Linked DNA regions of Homo sapiens: region 1 is linked to region 2. Evidence: promoter capture Hi-C in 16 types of primary human blood cells and fetal thymus (Javierre and others, 2016). All regions are on one chromosome and are shown on one strand. Each heading gives the region's core, a stretch centred on a gene start or on the middle of the fragment in contact. The rest is flanking DNA. Distances are from core to core; before and after follow the strand shown.

What was found. The method cuts DNA at HindIII sites, captures the fragments that hold promoters and counts their contacts. A CHiCAGO score of 5 or more calls a contact.
Region 1: a contact is called between a fragment that was not itself captured here and the fragment with the promoter of CNKSR3 in region 2, in 3 of 17 cell types (endothelial precursors, erythroblasts and M2 macrophages). The highest score is 8.1, in endothelial precursors.

What each region holds. Positions count from the first base shown.
Region 1 is chr6:154,656,152-154,659,568 of GRCh38, forward strand. No RefSeq gene overlaps it. Among named protein-coding and RNA genes, the nearest start is that of SCAF8, 76 kb to the right of the region's middle. The HindIII fragment of the contact is 2,108 bases long and covers 259-2,366 here.
Region 2 is chr6:154,508,779-154,511,961 of GRCh38, forward strand. It overlaps CNKSR3 (CNKSR family member 3), which reads right to left and starts at 1,907. Exons shown (of 13, transcript NM_173515.4): 1 at 1,285-1,907. The coding sequence starts at 1,336. It overlaps LOC101928868 (a long non-coding RNA gene), which reads left to right and starts at 2,013. Exons shown (of 2, transcript XR_001744422.2): 1 at 2,013-2,184. The HindIII fragment of the contact is 4,325 bases long and covers 500-3,183 here.

The DNA.
Region 1 (3,417 bases), core at 63-2,562, 150 kb after region 2:
GCTGTGTCTGTGGGAGTGTTGCCAAAAGAGATTAACATTTGAGTCAGTGGGCTGAGGAAGGCAGACCCACCCTTAATCTGGTGGGCACCATCTAATCAGCTGCCAGCAAATATAAAGCAGGCAGAAAAACGTGAAAAGGAGAGACTGGCCTAGCCTCCCAGCCTACATCTTTCTCCCGTGCTGGACGCTTCCTGCCCTTGAACATCAGACTCCAAGTACTCTGGTTTTGGGACTCGAACTGGCTCCCCTTGCTCCTCAAGCTTGCAGACGGCCTATTGTGGGATCGTGTGATCCTGTAAGTTAATACTTAACAGCCTCCCCTTTATGTATAGAGAGATAGATCCTATTAGTTGCATCACCTTAGAGAACCCTGACTAATACACACCTATAATCCCAATACTTTGGGAGGCTGAGGTGGGAGAATCACTTGAGCCCAGGAGACCAGCTTGAGCAGCACAGTGAGATCCCATCAAAAAAACTGAAAAATTAGCCAGGCATGGTGGTGTGTGCCTGTAGTCCCAGCTACTCAGGAGGCTGAGGCGGGAGCTGTCTTGAACCCAGGAGGTTGAAGCTGCAGTGAGCTATGATTCACTCCAGCCTGGGCACCAGAGTGAGACCCTGTCTCCAAAAAAAAATTTTAAAACTAGATAAATATTCCTCATTCCCCACAGGCACAGGCACAGTGATGATGATGATGATGATGATGATGATGATGATGGTGATAATTCTGTGGAATAGGATTTAAAAAACTACCTTTTCTTAAAGTGGCTACAGCCCTTTTTGCAACTATCTTTCTACTACTTTTAGGAAGGCAGCTGCAATTTGTTTCAGTCTCTTGACTACATTAAGCATGTAACAGATAGGACTTTCACGCAAATATTGTCTCATGAAAAACTGGGATGAGGGCCTGAAGGGGGTGTGCAGGGCACTTCTCTGTCTCCATGAACTTACCAAATGCCCCTGGAGTGCTGTGCTGGTCCATACAACTATCCAGCCTGGGTGGTACCCTACGCTCAGTGCATACGCTTTGTTCTATTACTTTTTTTTACCTTAGTAAGAAAACTTAACATGGCATCTACCCTCCTAACAAAACTTTAAGTGCACAATATTGTTAAGCAGAGGCTCAATGTTGTACAGATCTCTAGAACTGAAAGTTATACCTGTTGAACAGCAAATCCCATTTTCCCTTTCCCCTACCCCCTGGCAGCTGGCAATGACCATTCTCCTCTCTGCTTCCATGAATTTGACTACTGTAGATACCTCAGATAAGTGGAATCATGCAGTATTTGTCCCTCTTTGACTGGCTTCTTTCCCTCGGCACAATGTCCTCAAAGTTCATCCATGTTGTCACATATGGCAGGATTTTCTTTTTTAAGGCTGAATAATACTCCGCTGTATGTACATGCCACATTTTCCTAATCCACTCATACATCAACAGACATTTAGGTTGTTTGTACCTCTTTGTTATTGTAAATAGTGCTGCAGTAAACATGGGAGAGCTAATATCTCTTCGAGATCTTGATTTTTAATTCTTTTGGATAAAAACCTAGTAGTGGGGTTGCTAGATCATATAATAGTTCTATTTTCAATTTTTTGAAGAACCTCTATAAGGTTTTCATAGCAGATGCACTATTTTACATTCCTGCCGACAGTGTGCAAGGTCTCCTGTTTCTCCACATCCTCACCAACACGTGTGATCCTTTTTTTCTTTTTCAATAATAGTCTCCCTAGCAAATGTGAAGTGATATCTCATTGTGGTTTTTATTTGCATTTTCCTGATGACTAGTAATGTTGAGCATTATTTTATACACCCGTTCGCCATTTGTATGTCTTCTTTTGAGAAATGTCTATTCAGGACCGGGCGCGGTGGCTCATGCCTGTAATCCTAGCACTTTGGGAGGCTGAGGTGGGTGTATCACGAGGTCAGGAGATCGAGACCATCCTGGCTAACATGGTGAAACCTCGTCTCTACTAAAAATATAAAAAAAAAAAAAAATAGCTGGGCATGGTGGTGGGCGCCTGTAGTCCCAGCTACTAGGGAGGCTGAGGCAGGAGAATGGCGTGAACCCGGGAGGCGGAGCTTGCAGTGAGCTAAGATCATGCCATTGCACTCCAGCCTGGGGGACAGAGCGACACTCCGTCTCAAAAAAAAAAAAAAAAAAAAGAAATGTCTATTCAGGTCCTTTGCTCATTTTTCAGTCAGGTTATTTGTTTGTTGTTGTTGTTATTTTCCCTATTGAGTTGTAGGAGTCCTTTACATATTTTATATATTAACCTCATGTCAGATATATACCTTGAAAATATTATCGCTCATTCTGTAGGTTGCCTTTTCACTCTGCTCATTGTTTCCTTTGCTGTGCAGAAGAAGCTTTTCAGTTTGATGTAGTCCCACTTGTCTATTTTTACTTTTGTTGCCTGCACAAAACACATAAGTCTAATAAAATAGAAAATAAACATGTCTAGGTGGATGCTTCCTCAACAAGACACTGTCCAGCTCAACCAACAAGCCAAGATCAGCCTTCAGAGGAAAACACTAAAAGGATTTCTGCTGAAAACAGGAAAAAAGACAAGGTTGTCCTTTACCATCATTTTTTTTTTTTTTTTGAGATGGAGACTCACTCTATCGCCCAGGCTGGAGTCCAGTGGCCCGATCTCAGCCCACTGCAACCTTCCGCCTCCCGGGTTCAAGCGATTCTATTGCTTCAGCCTCCTGAGTAGCTGGGATTACCGGCACGCGCCACCATGCCTGGCTAATTTTTGGATTTTTAGTAGAGATGGGGTTTTACCAGGTTGGTCAAACTGGTCTCAAACTCCTGACCCTGTGATCCACCTGCCTCGGCCTCCCACAGTGCTGGGATTACAGGCGTGAGCCACCGCACCTGGCCGTACCACCGTTTTTATTTAGCGCAGTATTAGAGGCACTAGATAGTACAACTAGACAAGAGAAAAACATAATGGTTATAAAAATTTGAATGGCAGATATAAAAGTATCACTATTTGAAGATTAAATGATTCTTGGCCCATAAAACCCAAGTAAATTAACTAAAAAGTTATTTCAAATAAGAGAAGGCCATAGGGTTGATTAGATATAAAAATTAACATGCAGAAATCAAGTCTTTATTTATATAGGCAATAATCATTTAGAAGATGCAATAAAAAAGTTGTTTTACTTAAAATAAACAAAAATAAAACACTTAGGAATTAAAGATGAAATGTGTAACACCTATATGAAGAAAATCTTAAAACACTAAGATATTTGAAAACAGATTACAAATAGAAAGGCAGACTATGTTCGTGGGAAGGAAGATTAGAGAACACACACACACAATCATAATTCTCTACTAAAGAGGTTCAAGAGAAATTGACATGATTCTGCCAGTGCTGGAGACACTGAGACTTTAAAGTCCCTACCAACTA
Region 2 (3,183 bases), core at 657-3,156:
TCTCCCAGAGGAGCAGGAAATGGTCAGACATACCCACTGACACACCCCACACACCTCGGACATCCTATTCCACGTGGTCTATGTGTAAGTCACAGGCGTGAGAAATGAGATGTAGCGGTGATCAGTTTTCATTATGCTGCAGCCATGGGTGGGACGGTTTGAAAGACGACCTGGTCTTACCAGTATTACCTACCTCACAGGCTTACTGTGATGACCAAGGACAATAACAGAGAGAGCTCTTAGCAAACTGTAAAGCGCTACACAATTCTAGTTATTACTGAGAAAGAACACCATTCCTCACCTGGAAGAGCAGATAGAAAAACAAATAGTAACTTGAAACAGAGATGTCGTTGGGGGTGGGGGGAAACCATGAAAATACAGATTGTTCTTGGTGGACTTTGTTCTCTTGAAAGTACAGAAAAGGGTTGAGTAAACTCTAGTACCTTTCCCTCGAAATCGTAGGAGACATTGAAAAGTAAGCGAGCCAGCTAGGAGGACAAGCTTCTACCTCTGCTCATTCCCCCCACCACCCCCCCACCGCCCCAGCCCCACTGCCTTCCTCATCCCAAATATTGTATGAATCAAGACAGTGGTTCCAAACAATTATATTTCTCCTTCCCAGTGCTTACATGTGGCCTGAAAATGCAGCGCCACCGGGGATACTGGCGCCTCCCGGAGCAAAAGTCACTGCCTCCCGGGGAGTCCTGGCTCGAGGTTTCTCCCTGGCGCAAATGCTATGGTGTTGGCTTTTGCGCGGCCCTCTCGCCTTCTCCAACAAAAACAGACAGGCTCGGCGGACCCGCCGGAGTCTCCCTCTACCTGTCCGACAGCCCTGTCACGCCTGCGGACGGCTCTGGGCAGGCGGCATGGACGAGGTCCCGCGGGAGTCACCCACACAAAGGCACCTTGTGCCTCTGCACTCGGGCCCCCGGGTCGCCGGGCACCGCACCGGGGCCAGGCAGGGAGAGCGCCCCCCGGCCCGAGTGCCGAGTCCCGAGATCGGCATCCCCAGCCCTCAACCGCCACAGAAAGGCCACCCCTACTCCCTGGTTTAAAGATAGGGCTCCCCTCGGCTTGCCACAATCCGCACCCTGGAAAGGAAGAGCTCGGAGCAGGTACGAGAGATAGGAGCGCACAGGCCACTCGGCAGAAGTTTGCATTGTCACCGGGCTGTGCCCTCACCGCTTCTCGCCGGGAGGAAGGGCCAAGTACCCTCTTCCCCAGCTCCTCGTCCGCCCCATCCCCGAGGCTGGAGGACTCCGGACCCCCCCAAGGCCCGCGCACCTCTAGTCCAGTCCACCACTTGTTTGGGGCTCCACTTGGTCACGGGTTCCATGGTAAACCGCTTCGCCTCTCGCTGGGCTGGAGAGTCGCAGATAAAGTGCTGCTGCCTGCGCTCCGGTGCCCCTTCCCGGGAGGGCGCGCCCGCGGCTGCTCCCCTGCGCCCGAGCGACTCCGTCAAGACTGCATGGCCGCGGTCAGCCAGTCGTCCCAGCGCGGCTCCGCCAGGGGAGCCCGGCCCTCTCCCTCCAGCTGCCACAGTCCAGCTGCAGCTCCTCCTTCCCCCGCCGCCGCCGGGATCCCGGGCACAGCTGCTGCTCCCGAGCGACGGCAGCTGCAGGCACGCCGGGCTGCGACCCCAGACCCCTGGCCTCGGCTCGGCACGGGAGCCTCCCGGCCCGCGACCACTTCCTCGGATCTCTCGAGGCGCGATCGGCTCTCCCTCGGCCGGTCTTCTCGCCTGCTGGCTCTCCGGGGTCCCCGCTCCGCGTGCGCTGGCGTCCCGGAGCCTTCCCGGCGCAGGTCCCACCTCCTGCGCCGCCCTCCCGTGCCGCCCTGGCAGGGCCGAGCGCAGAGCGTGCGCGCTCGGGTTGCAAAGTTTCAGCTCCGGTTGCTGCAAACCGAATAAAAGAGAGGGCGGGGCCGAGGGTCTAGGGAAACTCGTGGGAGGGGGCGGGTCCGCCCGAAGCGGCGGACTCGGGTTACTTTCCCTCTCTAAGCCGGTCCGGCTCACACCCGCAGCGTCCCGGGCCCCGCTTTCCTTTTCAAGGGGCGGGTTGTAGATCGCGCGCGCACCCTGGAGAGCCCGCTGGTTTGTGTGAGGCCCTGGCCCTGTGGGTAGCAGAACACTCTGTCTCGCTGTGAGCAACAATACACTAAAAAAAAAAGAAAAGAAAAAAAAAAGTAAGATCTGCATGTTCTGTTCATTTTAAATGCTTTATATCGTAATACTACTCTGCCATTAAGCCGTCATTTTAGGTTTCTTAAAGTAGAACAATTTTTTTTTTTAGATGGAGCCTCGCTCTGTCGCCCAGGCTGGAGTGCAGTGGCGCGATCTCAGCTCACTGCAGCCTCTGCCTCCCAGGTTCCAGCGATTCTCCCGCCTCAGCCTCCGGAGTAGCTGGGATTACAGGCGTCTGCCACTACGCCCGGCTAATTTTTGTATTTTTAGTAGAGACAGGGTTTCACCATGTTGGCCAGACTGGTCTCGAAATCCTGAACTCAGGTGATCCGCCAGCCTCGGCCTCCCGAAGTGCTAGGATTACAGGCCTGAGCCACCGCGCCAGGCCAGAACAATTTTATTTCATTTATATGTTGACTGAAATCGTAACAATGTAACTCTTTTAATGCTATTGCTATGAAATTTCAACTTTGCGACTAAAATTAGATTGATGGCTTTTAGCGTTATATTTTGCTATATTATAATTTCATATTTACAGAGTGAGCTAATGCTCCTTGGGATTAGTCATTAACCGTGAGAGGAAAGCTGTTAGCCAAGAAAAAAAAAATAGCTCGTGCACAATTTCAGCGCCTGGCAGGGGAGGGCCCTTCCACATTCATGGACTGCAACTGGGGCCAGAGTTAATGCTAAACTGGGGGAAAATCTAATTTGAATGCCTGCCTCTCCTTCAAGTTCTCCCTGCATCCTAACCGCCCCCCCAACCCCTGCCACCCTCGCCACCACCCCTCCCCTCACCCCCCAACACCCCCCCCAACCCCCCACCCCCGCCCCGCCCCGCCCAGCAACCTCTTCCTCCCACTCTTTTTGGCACTGAATGATTCTTACTTTCAATTACGGTTATTTATTTACATCTTCCTCTTGGAGACTATTAACCCCTTGAGGGCAGAACCTACTTGATCTCATATAGAGTTTTCTCTCCTCCCTTTCTTCCTACCACCTAA